Linked DNA regions of Homo sapiens: regions 2 and 3 are each linked to region 1. The links are contacts of gene promoters, found by promoter capture Hi-C in blood cells and fetal thymus (Javierre and others, 2016). All regions are on one chromosome and are shown on one strand. The core of a region is centred on a gene start or on the middle of the fragment in contact, and the rest is flanking DNA. Distances in the headings are between cores, read along the strand shown. Region 1 holds the start of ZNF2 (zinc finger protein 2). Region 2 overlaps MRPS5 (mitochondrial ribosomal protein S5). Region 3 overlaps ZNF892 (zinc finger protein 892).

The links. Contacts are between HindIII fragments. The CHiCAGO score rates a contact against its expected background, and 5 or more counts as called.
Region 2: a contact is called between a fragment that was not itself captured here and the fragment with the promoter of ZNF2 in region 1, in 2 of 17 cell types (total CD8 T cells and naive B cells). The highest score is 5.9, in total CD8 T cells.
Region 3: a fragment that was not itself captured here is called in contact with the fragment with the promoter of ZNF2 in region 1 in 15 of 17 cell types (naive B cells, total CD8 T cells, total B cells and 12 more); the score reaches 17.3 in naive B cells.

What each region holds. Positions count from the first base shown.
Region 1 is chr2:95,163,216-95,167,811 of GRCh38, forward strand. It overlaps ZNF2 (zinc finger protein 2), which reads left to right and starts at 2,594. Exons shown (of 5, transcript NM_021088.4): 1 at 2,594-2,645. RefSeq lists enhancers at 1,582-2,218, 2,219-2,853, 2,281-2,710. The HindIII fragment of the contact is 3,796 bases long and covers 168-3,963 here.
Region 2 is chr2:95,100,127-95,104,722 of GRCh38, forward strand. It overlaps MRPS5 (mitochondrial ribosomal protein S5), which reads right to left. Exons shown (of 12, transcript NM_031902.5): 7 at 4,514-4,596; 8 at 1,551-1,597; 9 at 711-768; 10 at 348-410. Among named protein-coding and RNA genes, the nearest start is that of MRPS5, 19 kb to the right of the region's middle. The HindIII fragment of the contact is 4,684 bases long and covers 1-4,368 here.
Region 3 is chr2:95,210,542-95,215,137 of GRCh38, forward strand. ZNF892 (zinc finger protein 892) reads left to right here. Exons shown (of 5, transcript NM_001395961.1): 3 at 1,077-1,179; 4 at 1,652-1,741; 5 at 3,795-4,596. Among named protein-coding and RNA genes, the nearest start is that of ZNF892, 5.3 kb to the left of the region's middle. The HindIII fragment of the contact is 690 bases long and covers 2,190-2,879 here.

The DNA.
Region 1 (4,596 bases), core at 1,344-3,843:
AGGATATCCAAATGATATCCCTGTGTGCCCATCCCTGTTGTGCCCATCCAAGTTCCCGACCCACAGAACATGTTGGCCTAATAAAATTGTTGTTTTCAGCCACTAAGTTTGGAGTGGTTAAACAGCATCAGACGGCCATAACATCCTGCAATTTGGCAGAGCCTACAAGCTTCTGGGCCCAAGAGATACCTGTTTTACTCTAAAAAGATGGATGTATGTCACTTCTTGGCTGCTTAGCTTCCATATGCTCCTCCTAACTCTTTTGAGAATATCAGTTAAAATTCTCTTAATCTTCCCAGTAACATGGCCGATTAGATGGCCTAAACAGCCCTCTTAATAAAAAAACTAAAAATGCTGAAAAATTGCAAACATCTTTATAAACACACTGATGAGCAGGCATGAAAGTGAGGAATTTGTAAACATTTAAAAAAATAAAGTGAAATGGGCCAGGTGCAGTGGCTCATGCCTATAATCCTAGCACTCTGGGAGGCCGAAGAGGGTGGATTGCTTGAGCCCGAGTTTGAAACCAGCCTGGGCAACATGGTAAAACCCCATGTCTACAAAAAAATACAAAAAGTAGCCAGACATGGTGGTGCATGCCTGTAGTCCCAGCTACTCTTGAGGCTGAGATGGGAGGACTACGTGAGCCCAGGAGGTGGAGGTTGCAGTGAGCTGAGAGCATGCCACTGCATTCTGGCCTGGCTGACACAGCCAGAGCCTGTCTCAAAAAATAAATAAAGTGAGAGCTAGAATTCTGAGAATCGAGCAACAAACCTGACTTTTAGACTGCTAAATCCTAGAGCACATAAACTTCCACTTTGGCAGCTACCTGGAAGCGGTAAAGACAAAGCCTAGGGCCTGCCAGTGGGTGGGGAATATTCTAGAAGGAAACACTTTCAGGACCCCAGTTTCCACCCTCAGTATAAGGCTAAATAATAAAAACCACCACACAGAAGGGAACAAAAAAAAAAAAGTATTTCTCTTATGGATGTTGTGACTTTAATCAAGCTCTAATCTCCTAGGAAGGTCCAAACCCCTTAGTACAACACAAAGGCAGCCACAACCTGGCCTTACCTCAAGATAGTTATTGGCCCCTAAACCTCATCCACAAGGCATTCATTTTGCTACTAATTATTTTCACTTTTATCCTCTAGACTATGCCTTTGCATGTACTATTCACTGTTTAGATCACACTTTTTTTTTCTTAAGTATTTAAGTATACCAGTGAAAGGAATCCTTTCCCACCTTTCCCGGCCATAGTTAATAGCTTCCTCCATTGTACTCTCATAGTATGTTGAATGTGACATAATTATAGAACATACTGCCTCTATTGTGATTTTACATTCTGATTTTTTCCATTGGACCAAGAGTTCATTTGGGGCAGTAACTTACTCATATTTGTAACTGTGCCTTGCTTATGGTGAGCAATTTGGATTTTTTGAATGAAAGTGTAGTCTTATGGAGATGGAGAGTAGAAGGATGGTTAACAGACTGGGAAGGGTTGGCGGGGTGGGGAAGTGGGGATAGTTAATGGGTACAAAAAATAGAATAAGAAATAGTATAACTAGTATTTGATAGCACATCAGAGTAATTACAGCCAATAATATTGTATATTTTAAAGTAACTAAAAGAATATAACTGGATCGTTTGTAACACAAAGGACAAATGCTTGAGGTGATGGATATCCCATTTGTCCTGATGAGATTATTACTTATTGCATGCCTGTGTCAAAATATCTCAGGTGGCCCATAAATGTTCACACCTACTGTGTACCCACAAAAACTTAAAAAAAACCCAAACCACTAATAAATTAACCTGGAAAAACGTAGCTTTGTTCCTGAAGTAAGATTTTATCATATTCTTTGTAATTTTCAGTCTTCCCTGAGATGTAGCTCAGTGGTTCCTAGCTTTAGCTGCACATTAGAGTCACCTGCAGCTCTTTTCAAACTGTCGCTCCACAGCTGGGCCTCAGGCATCAATGTCGAAAGCTCTCCGGGTGATTCCAGCTTGCAGCCAGGGCCGTTCCAGCAACTCCAAGGCTGGCTGGTGTGCGCTGAAGCTGTCGGGAGTCGGACCAGCTGCACAGTTAATACATATGTGTCCTAGGCTCCTCTCTCCTTCCAACGCAAATATGTGTACAAACCCTGCCTGGAACCGCAGCCCTGCTCTCAGAATCAAATTCCTGAAAGTGGGCAAGCGGAAGCGGAAATAAGCCCTCTCCCAACGCCAGCTGACTCGATTTCGTCTCGGTCTTCCCCAGAGCTGGACACGAGGCACCATGATCAGAGAGACACATTCCCTGCGGACGGCGCTCCCATCGGATACTGGAGGGACGCGACACTAGAGGCAGGCAGTACTTCAGGGTGACCATAAGTCTCCCAAACAGCCACAACGGCTCGCTCTCCCAGCTAAGGCGACAGCGCTGCCATTTTGGATCCTGTTCAGCCACGGGAAGCCGGCGTTTGCACACATTTTCGGACGTCATATTAAAGCGCACCGGACGCCGAGACTTCTGGGAGATGAAGTCCTTGCGAAGGCCCCGCATTGATTGGGAGCGCAGTCGCCAGGACCCTGTGCGCAGGCGCGTTGGTTTCCCGACCTGAAGAGGCGCCGTCTTCCCGGGTCCCGAGCACTCTGTGCCGGAGGTGAGGGTTGTGGGTGTGTGTCTTCAAGGAGCGGAGTGAGCGCAGCAGCCGAGAGAGGGGACATGAGAACTTTGGGGAGGTGCTGTGGGAGCAAAACGGGGTGACACGGGCGAGGCCAGCCTGCAGAGCGTGTGTCGCGACGTCTCGGTGCGGACGGAAAGTTGTGCATCCACCCCCGTGTGTGCGTGTGTCCCGTGGGGTCTGGGCACCCATTGTATGTCGGTCCCGGACTTTAAGGTTGGAGGTTTGGAGTCTTCCTCCGCCTCTCCCGTTTCTTCTTCCCATAATGGGTGCTTAATGAACGTGGGTGGAATTGACACCAAATCTAGGATGCTGCCGCTCCGTCTTTGCCAGACAGCGCCTCAGATTGCCTCATTTAGCTCCCTGCCCTGGGCCTCCGCACGAGTGCTGGAGGGCTTCATGGAGGAGGTGGGATTTGACGTGAAAGAAAAACAACAACAACAAAACAAAAACCACGAAAGAAGCAGCTAAGCGTTAGGCAGATTTGAGCTGGAGATAGTTTTTACAGAAATGCAGGAACAGTGGTAGACAAGGTTGAAGAAAAGGTACGCTGGGAGCCAGGGCCCGGGACTCAGAGAATCAGGACAAGACTCAGTAGGCAAGGTGGCTTATATAGGTGTGATCCAGGGACTGACACGAATGAAACTATTTGGAGACAGTTATTCTAGAGGTCACATTCAGGACTAGAGAGGGGAAAGGACCAGTAGCAGAGAGCTACTTAGGAATGTATGGTAGTTTTGGAGTAAGATGTTGTGGACTTGAATTATGGTGGTGGTAGTGAAAGGGAAGGATACAGATGACACTGCAAAAGAAGAGTCAAAAGGGCCTGGTGACTAGATTTGGGAGGAAAGAGAGTGAGGTAAGAGTTTGAATTTGGGACACCTGGGAGAACAATAAAACATCTGATACAAATGTAAAGCCAGGAAGAGGCGTTGATGTGTGGAATTGCCTAAAGGAAGATAGTTTTGAGGTGATGGTGGAACGCCTGATTTAAGGTTTGCAGTCATTTGGAAATGCAGGATGAGTCTGGAAGAATGCAATACAGTTGTATTGTAAAATTACAATACAATTACAGGACATGGACATCTGTAGAGTTTGAAAATGGAGCCCTGAATGTGGATGGACTTTCTGAGGGATGGCAAAAACGAAGAAAGTACAAAGACTGAGCTATGGGCAGCATCCATGTTTCCAGGGCAAAAGTGGGGAAAAAGAGTCACAGAAAGACAGCAATTTTAGTGGTTGGAAGAAAAGCTAGTGCAGTATCATAGCAGTTACAGTAACCACTTGAATAAGCAGAAGCTTGTCCGAACAGTGAAAAGCTACAGAGAAATAGATAATATGGCCGGGCACAGTGGCTCACGCCTGTAAGTCCCAGCACTTTGGGAGTCTGAGGCGGGCGGATCACGAGGTCAGGAGATCGAGACCATCCTGGCTAACACGGTGAAACCCCGTCTCTACTAAAAAAATACAAAAAATTAGCCGGGCGTGGTGGCGGGCGCCTGTAGTCCCGGCTACTCGGGAGGCTGAGGCAGGAGAATGGCATGAACCCGGCAGGCGGAGCTTGCAGTGAGCCAAGATTGCGCCACTGCACTCCAGCCTGGGTGACAGAGCGAGACTCAGTCTCAAAAAAAAAAAAAAAAAAAAAGAAAGAAATAGAGATAATAGGATCAGAAATGCATTGGTAGGCCAGGTGCGGTAGCTCATGCCTGTAATCCCAGCACTTTGGGAAGCCGAGGTGGGCAGATCACTTGACGTCAGGAGTTCAAGACCAGCCTGGCCAACATGGTGAAACCCCGTCTCTACAAAAATACAAAAATTAGCAGGGCATGATGGCGGGTGCCTGTAATCCCAGCTACTTGGGAGGCTGAGGTGGGAGAATCACTTGAGCCCGAGAGGTGGAGGTTGCAGTGAGCCGAGATGATGCCATTGC
Region 2 (4,596 bases), core at 777-3,276, 64 kb before region 1:
CTGAGTCAGAACTGAAACACCTAAATGCATCAATGAATTCCCTATGAGGAACTAATGTTCCCACTCCTCCAAACCCTACTACTCACTCAGGTGCTATTTCCCGTTTCCAATGTGCTCTCCCCACCGTAAATTATTCCTGGAACAGGCCTGTGCTCACAGTAGCCTGTGTGCCTTGACTATTCTTATTTCTCCAAGAGCCTCATCGTTCTTAAATCTAACATAAGCCTTTTACATTTTGGTGTTTCCAAGATGAGTTCAACTAAAGATGAACAAAAATAGAGGAGAGGATAGAACTGTTATAATTTCTCTGCTTTATCATCAACAAATGGTAAGAGTTTTAAAGTTACCTTTGGGTTGTTTCTTCATCTTGATATGCGTCCTTTTAAATCTTAATGAAATATCATGGAATACTGGAGGGTAAAAACATAAACACAAGAGGATTAGGTGTGTGGCTTTAATAAGCCTTTGCAAATATCACAAAGCAATGTATACTAGCCTCAACAGCCAGCACATATTGACCAAAGATAAATGGTAAGCTCTGATTTCATTCATTTTAGTAACCTTCTTAGGAGATTTGTTTTCACACTTCATATATTTGTAAGAATGTAATAAGAGAGAAACACAAAGATACCTATAGAGATACATTGTCACACAGACTTTAACAAATGTAATCCTGCAAATTAAAAAAAAAAAAATAGATTATCACTCACTTGTATGGTCTTCATATCGTTCTATATAATGCAAATGGTGAACTGCTCTGTTCTTTGCCTGAAAGGAAAATGTTTTTCTTAACTCTATTGTTGAAATTTACATCTTTTCAAGGATTCCAAAAACACTTTTAATAAAAATGTTTCATTATCAAAAATTCACTTACGCAAAAAGGTTAGTATATACTTCTAAAATATAAGGACTTATTTTTTAAAACTCTTAACTACAATATCACTATCACCCCTAAAAAAATTAACAATAATTCCTGGCTAGGCATGGTGGCTCACATCTACAATCCCAGCACTTTGGGAGGCCGAGGCAGGCCAATCACTTGAGATCAGGAGTTCGAGACCAGTCTGACCAACATGGAGAAACCACATCTCTACCAAAAATACAAAAGTTAGCCGGGTGTGGTGGTGGGCACCTGTAATCCCAGCTACTTGGGAGGCGGAGGCAGGAGAATCACTTGAATTCAGGAGGCGGAGGTTGCAGTGAGCCGAGATCGTGCCACTGCACTCCAGCCTGGGTGACAAGAGTGAGACAACGTCTCAAAAAAAAAAAAAAAAAGTAACAATTCCTTAGTATCTTCAAACATTCTGTCAGTGTTCAAACTTCCACAATTGTCTCATAACTTGGCTAGACAATTACAAATCTGATAAAAAATGGTGCAAAGGAATATAAGTACTTCTGAAACTGATTTTTATGAGCTAATTAACCCTTGACAGCAAGCCTCATGGGAAGGTTCTGGGACAAATTATTATTGTTTTGTGGTTCCCACTGTGTCTGGCATATAACTTACTAATCTTTTACTGAGTGTCAACAAAGAAAAAAAATGTACATACTTTCCTGAAAGCATCCATCCGATCAGTAGCTTTCCCAATAGAAAAACCTTTAAACAAAAAAGCAAAAATAAGAAAAGAGACAGAAATTTTGCCCATGTGGTTTTTGCCACATTTCAAGTTTCTGCTCCTACAATATTTCACAGCACTTCATCTTTCCACCACCCACAAAAGACTTGCTATACAAAACCATTAATAGGCTGGGTGTAATGATTCACATCCGTAATCTCAGCACTTTAGGAGGCTGAGGTGGGAGGATCGCTTGAGCCCAGGAGTTTGAGACCAGCCTGAACAACACAGCAAGACTCTGTCTCTATTAAGAACAAAATTTAAAAAATTAGCCAGGCATGCTGGTGCATGACTGTGGTCCCAACTACTCAGGAGGCTGAGATGGGAGGATTACTTGAGTTTAGGAGTTTGAGGGTACAGTGAGCTATGACTGTGCCACTGCACTCCAGATAGAGCAAGACCCTGTCTCAAAACAAAAAAAAAAAACCTAACAATAACAAAGCACGAGGCTACAGAGATCTGTTTTGAAGCATTCTGGAAATAACAAATTTAGATGTATTTATAAAATCCAAGGTTAGATGCTGCCTTTTAAAAATATCTAGATAAAATACACTCAATTTAAAAAAAACTAAATATGCTTTAAATGAATTAGGCAAATCACTTTGAACATTTAAAGATAGATTAAAATAATCAGAAAGGGGCCAGGTGCAGTGGCTCACGCCTATAATCCCAGCACTTTGGGAGGCCAAGATGGACAGATTGCTTGAGCTCGAGTTCAAGATGAGCCCGGGCAACATAGTGAGAATCCATCTCTACAAAAAATATAAAAATTAGCCAGGCATAGTGGTAGGTGCCTGTAATCCTTGCTACTCAAGAGGCTGAGGTGGCAGGATCACTTGAGCTCAGAGAGTTGAGACTGCAGTAAGCCTTGATGGTGCAACTACACTCCATCCCAGGTGACAGAGCAAGACCCTGTCTCAGGAAGGAAAAAAATATCAGAAAGGTTGGGAAAAAACATCCACTGCTATAGAGTAAAACCATGATTTCAATGGAACTTCAAATGGAATTCAGATTTTAATTAGCCAGGAAACCAAATCAATGACTCTTTAGTTTATGAACACTTCACTATGAAATACAGTTTACCAGCAGTTACAGAGATACTGCCATTATCTGCTGCCACTGTATTTTGTTTTGAACAACGTATTTTGTTTTTAAATTATACATGGGAAAATAACATAAAACAATACTGCTCTATAAGATACAAGGGACCTCTGAGACCTGGGACAAAAGAGGATGTGAATGCCAATTCCTAGTTTAAACAAAACAAATTAAACCATGGAAGTCCTAGAGGAAAATATGGGGAAACTTACTAACATTTACAATCTTCAAATGAGGCTTTCTAAGCAAGACACAAACCCGAAGTGATAACTAATATTTATAACCCTGTAGTGATATAAGACTGATAAATTTGCCACAGAGCTTAAAACTTCTGTGTGGAAAAAAATTAAAACCTAAGTCAAAATATCTGACTAAGGGCTAATGTCCTTAACTTACAAAGAGCTTATACCATTCAATAAGAAAAATAATAACCACCCAACAGAAAAACGGGCAAAGCATATAACGAACAGATCTCAAAAAGGAAATAACAACAGCCAATAAACATGTAAAATGGTGTTCAAGCTCTCATAATTTAAAAAATGCAAATCAAAACTGAGAGATTTGTTTCACAGATCATACTGACAATCAGTAAGGTCTGATGAAACCCGAAGTTGGCAAGGGTGAGATGGTGTAGAGAAACACAGACATTGATGCAACCTTTTGTGGGGAGGCAATCTAGGAATATTTATCAGCACTTAAAATACATATAACCTTGGGGCAGCAATTTTACTGCAAGAAGTTTCCCCTATTGATATACTTGCAGAAGTAAAACAAATTACACATAAACGAACTGTACAGTTTTTTATAATTAGTAAAAATTTGGAAACAACTTAAATATTCAGCAGTAGGGAAAAGGTTACAAAAATTATCCATGCACAATGGAACACTTTGCAACCAGTACAACGAATCAAGGAGAATGTTTATGTTAATCTGAGTATTAATATCTCTGAATATAATACTATGTCAGAAAATCAAGGTGCAAAATTATGGCTATAATGTGATCCCTTTATGTAAATTTTTTAAAGATGTATGATAATAATATGAACATAAAATTTAGGAAAATTACAAAAGTAGCTGTTAGGCCTGGTTTCCTTTGGCCACATACTATATATATATGTATTACTTTTGTTAAATGTCAGTATGGGCTAACTAGGCCATTTTCCTGTGTTCTTTTCCTTCAACAGACATGAATACATTTCAAAAACAGGTGTCCACTATGTTAACTATACATAGGAGAAAATTTAAATCATCAGCAAACCTACTAATTGGAGTAAACACTATTAACCTTTACAGTGTACAGTTTTCCAGTCTTTTCTTGGCACATAAATATACTTTTAAAAAAGAAAAAAACAAAACTAGGATTTTATATGGTCTTATATAACGTTTTTGTGTTTTTTTTTTTAACTTAGCATTATTTTAAAACTAATTTCCCATAATTCTTTAATGGATACAGAATATTACAGTGTATGGCTACACTGTTTTTATAACCATGGCCCTATTGAACATTTAGTTTTTCTCCCTAATTTTCCACTATTATACATAATAAAATAATGTCTTCAGCCTTTTATAATATTCCTTTTCCTCAGAGGAAAAGGCAAGTACAGTAGAATCTATTCTCTCTTTTCTCTCTAAGGGAAGTCATGGACTTACCACAAGCTTTGTGAACCCAAACCACTAAAAGGTTTAATCAATGGAAAAAGTCCGGCCAGCAGCATGAGCCCATGGGCTCCACAGCATGGCCCGTGCCACGCCTTTCCCTGCACACCACCGCCACTGTGATGCCATCACTCCCCATTCACCTGCAGCTCCTTTTCCGTTCCCCACAGCCACCAAGACACGGATCGATTTCTTTCTTCCCTCTTTCGCAGTCATAGTGAAAACG
Region 3 (4,596 bases), core at 1,285-3,784, 47 kb after region 1:
TCCTGCAGTGTTTTCAATGTTTAATAGGCTTCTGTTCTCCTCCCCACTTCTGTTCCCATGCACACGTTTATAGAACACCCCATTTAAACTTGTTTCTATTAATTCTTGTTCCTTCCTTCCTTTCTTTCATTCAAATATTCAACAAATATTTACAGAGTTTCTGCTCTGTGCCAAGTACTAGGCTGCTTCAGTGAGCAAAAATAGACCTGGCCTCTGCTCCTGTGGAGCTTATGTTAGCCACAAGATCCCCTCTATGTGTGCAACCCAAGGGAATGGAAGGAACATGTGTTCTAACTAGAGAGTCAGGGAAGGCTTCCCTTGAAGTAACACCTGAGCTGAGATCTGAAGGGAGAGAAGGATTCACATTGCTGAAAGGATGGGGCAGAGGGCAGAATATTCAGGAATAGGAAGCAGGATGTGTAAAGGGGCTAACGGGAATAGGACACACACTTCAAGCAGATGAAAGAATGCCACCAACTGGGGGACGCGGGCAGATTGATCAGGGTCGTTGTGAAAAATGACAAGAACACTCTGGGAACTTTCATAATCATTTGGGCTTCAGATACTGTTTTACAAATAAGTCTATATTCTGTGACGTGTAGGAAACATCTTAATTTTTAATATATATGGGACTGATTTCATTCTTAGGAAAACTAGAGAAAAAATACTTCAATTTCTTGAACCCCATATGTTTTAAAAACTATACCATAAGGAAAATACTTAATTCATAATTACATTTTTCTCTCCTTTTTCCTGTATAAGTAGTAGCAAATTCTGTAGTTCTGTAATTTATTGATACATAAACTAAAAAGTTCATACGTTCAAGTTTTACATTGAAGGTGCTTTCCTTCCTACTTGCAGGTAATATGCATTTCTGCTGCCTGGAGGCAGAGAGTGAGTCTGTGGACTACATATTCACCAGAGAATCTTAGTACTGGAAAGGGTGGCCAAGGCCATGTTGTCTGTCCTTTTTTTATCCTTTCTGTCTTCCTCCTCCTGTGCTGTCAGTTTTATTCCTCTTCAGAGGCCTCTGTAAGGAGGCTCATTGGTGAGCACCAATGTGTTTGGTTTTTCAGGAATTGATGATCAGGGATATGGCCGAGGCTCTCACCCAGTGGAGGCAGCTGAACTCTCCTCAGGGAGATGTGCCTGAGAAGCCTAGGAATCTGGTCTTGCTGGGTAAGGATGGCTCCCCCAATGCCTGTGAATTTACCCAGTGTGGTACCTTGTCCTCCTCAGTTCCTAGGAGCTCCAAGGTCCTTATATTCAATGATTCTTAATTCTAGTAGGGCCTGAGACAGGCAATTTCTGCCTTTTGTTTCTGGATATAGTTTTAACACTCCTGGAATTAGACATAAACACCTTTATTTTATGGACTTGTAGCATCCTTCTTCTCAACTCCTTGACCAAGGATGTGGAGACAAAGTGCTAATGAAAACAACTCTTAAGAGAATGGATGCTTATTCTTTAAATAGGGGGAGGTAAAATTGATAAGGGACTCAAACCCCTATCAATCTTCCTACCTCGTGAACACTGTTGAGGAAGAAATGGAGAACTGACCTCACTCTCTCCCTCTCTTACCATGTTCCTAAAGACCAGGGAATGAACACTGAGGTCTTCACCAGACTCCTTTTTCTTTCCCTATGAATAGGGCTTCCAATTTCCACACCTGATGTAATCTCTCAGTTGGAGCATGAGGAAGAGCTGGAGAGAGAAGTCTCAAAGGCAGCCAGTCAAAAGCGTGAGTGTTGGAAACAGTGCAAGTAAAACCCAGATTGTCAATGCAAATGCTTGTGGAGGAGGAGCCTGTCCAGATTTTGCTAGACCCATGGAAAAGTTGAAGTCCCTGTCTCACCCCTATGCCACATCCTAGCTCTGTGGATGGTTATCTGTTTATAAAGTTATAATTTGATTTTTTAGAAAGTAAATACTTTCTACTCTTTCAAACCAATTCTTTTTCCCAAATAAGGTAAAATGAAACCAACATTTTAATGTTTGTTAATAACTTGCTTGGGTTCAAGGCTCTAAAGCAGGATTTTTTACATGTGTTATTTTATCTTTGCTGGATGCCATTTTTTTGAGTCTCAGATCAATGACTGTAAATTCATCTCTGGGTTTTCCCTTGCCACCTTCTCTGTCTAAGCAGAGGCAGCATAGCATGATGGTTAAGACTGCAGACTTTGGAACTAAGCTTCCTTGGTTTAAAGCTGATCTTAGCTACTCATTAGCTTTGTGACCTTTAACAAATGACTTGTGTTCTCTGTGACTTAAATTAAAATGGGGATAATGATAGCACAGAGCTTATACTGTTTTGGTGGTGATCAAAGGAAATAATCCAAGAGAAATGTTTTAAACAGTACCTGGCTATATGCTAAGCAAAGATAGCTATTAAGTCCTAGTAACTTTTTTGAAAGATGTTATGGATTTGACCCTGTTACTTCTGTCAAACTGGATTACTGCAAAAGACTGTTGGCTAATTATACTTTCTTTTACTCTTACCCTTGTAAAATTGAGGCAGCATAATACTGCTAGATTCCCCATTGAGTTGCTTACTCTGCCAGCTCTGTATTCCTCTACCTGCTTTCAAAGCCGTTGTTAGTCTGCCTAACTTTTTTGCCTTCTCTGTTCTTCAACTTGAACTCTTAACATCAGATAGGCAAGTCCCTCACTATCCTCCACTAACTGTGTGTTCATGAACATTTGGGGCTTTAATTTTTTCCACTCCCCTTAGCTGGATGTCCATTTGCTTTTAACCTATTCTACCTATTTGTCCTTTAAAATCCCAGGCACTTCCCTGAATATATCTAGTTGAGAACACTGTATTGTATTAATTTATTTCATGTAGAGACATGATTGGAATGGGTGTTAAAGACCATTTAAGCTTGGAAGTATTTAAACATTTTTAGCAATGAAGCTTTTCCCCCTCAAATTCTTACTAGGAAGCCCAGGAACTTGGGGTAGATATCTTGAGAGGTTGGGGACTCATCTGAACACATGGAGTTTTGACCTTCCCCTCCCAACACACTGCTGTTTTTCTCTTTCTTTCCTTTCTCTCTTTTTTCTTTCTTCTTGGTTCTGTTTTACTCTTTCCAGTTTGCTGGGTCTAGGGTGATGGTAAGCAATCAGAGGTGATTAGTTGCTTTCCAATTAATAAGCTTTGTGGTCATTTGAGTTTGTAGACCTGGACTATGTTGAATGCTAGCTTCTAGAATTTGTGTCTTATCTTGAGACAGTAGAACCAACAGATTTTTGTGAAAGGGAGATGGTTTTGAGCAATTAGTCTTTTAGCAGTGGTTGGGACATATTGGAGTAGGAAAAGATTGGTGGCAAGGAGATTAGCTAAAGATGGTCATTCTTGAGGCATGAAATGATAAGGCTCTGGTCAGATGGGTACAGTGAGTCTTTGGAAGACCATCTTTCTCTGATCCTATCTCCTCTAAAGGATCTATCTCCTCTAGATCCTTTTTTAAAAAAATCTGCTATTTCTCCATATCACCTCTTCTTAGTCTCATTCTGTTATTTTTTGTTATTTCCTATCCTGCTGCATAGAGGAATGTTGAGTACCTGCACACACACTCCTTTTATGCCGTCGTACTTCTTTGTCCAGTCATCTTTTTTTTCTTGTGTTCTCTCAAGATTGCAAGACTATTTTTGAGAGCTTTCAAGTTCATGTGTTCCCTGTAAATATTCCTAACAAAGAATGAAACAAACATGTTTCATTAATTTCCTACCACAGCAGTTATTTTTCTCTCAGTGTAGGAAATGATACACATGTGTGTTTTTGCTTATTTCAGACTGGGAAACAATACCAGAAAGCAAGGAGCTAACTCCAGAGAAGGATATTTCTGAAGAAGAATCGGCTCCTGGGGTGTTAATTGTAAGATTTTCAAAGGAAAGTTCTAGTGAATGTGAGGATTCTTTAGAGAGTCAGCAGGAAAACCATGAGAAACATTTAATACAAGAGGCTGTCACTGAGAAATCTTCTAGGGAGAGAAGCTACCAATCTGATGAATTTAGAAGAAATTGCACTCAGAGGTCCTTACTTGTTCAGCAGCAAGGAGAGAGACTACATCATTGTGATTCATTTAAAAATAACTTAAAACAAAATTCAGATATAATTAGGCATGAGAGAATTTGTGCAGGAAAGAAACCTTGGAAATGCAATGAATGCGAGAAAGCCTTCAGTTACTACTCAGCTTTTGTCTTGCATCAGAGAATTCACACAGGAGAAAAACCCTATGAATGTAACGAATGTGGTAAAGCCTTTAGCCAGAGCATACACCTTACTCTGCACCAGAGAATTCATACTGGGGAGAAACCCTATGAATGTCATGAGTGTGGGAAAGCCTTCAGTCACCGCTCAGCCCTTATTCGGCATCATATAATTCATACTGGAGAAAAACCCTATGAATGCAATGAATGCGGGAAGGCCTTTAATCAGAGTTCATACCTCACTCAACATCAGCGAATTCATACTGGAGAGAAACCTTATGAGTGTAATGAATGTGGGAAGGCCTTCAGCCAAAGCACATTCCTTACCCAGCATCAGGTCATTCACACTGGAGAGAAACCTTATAAGTGTAACGAATGTGGCAA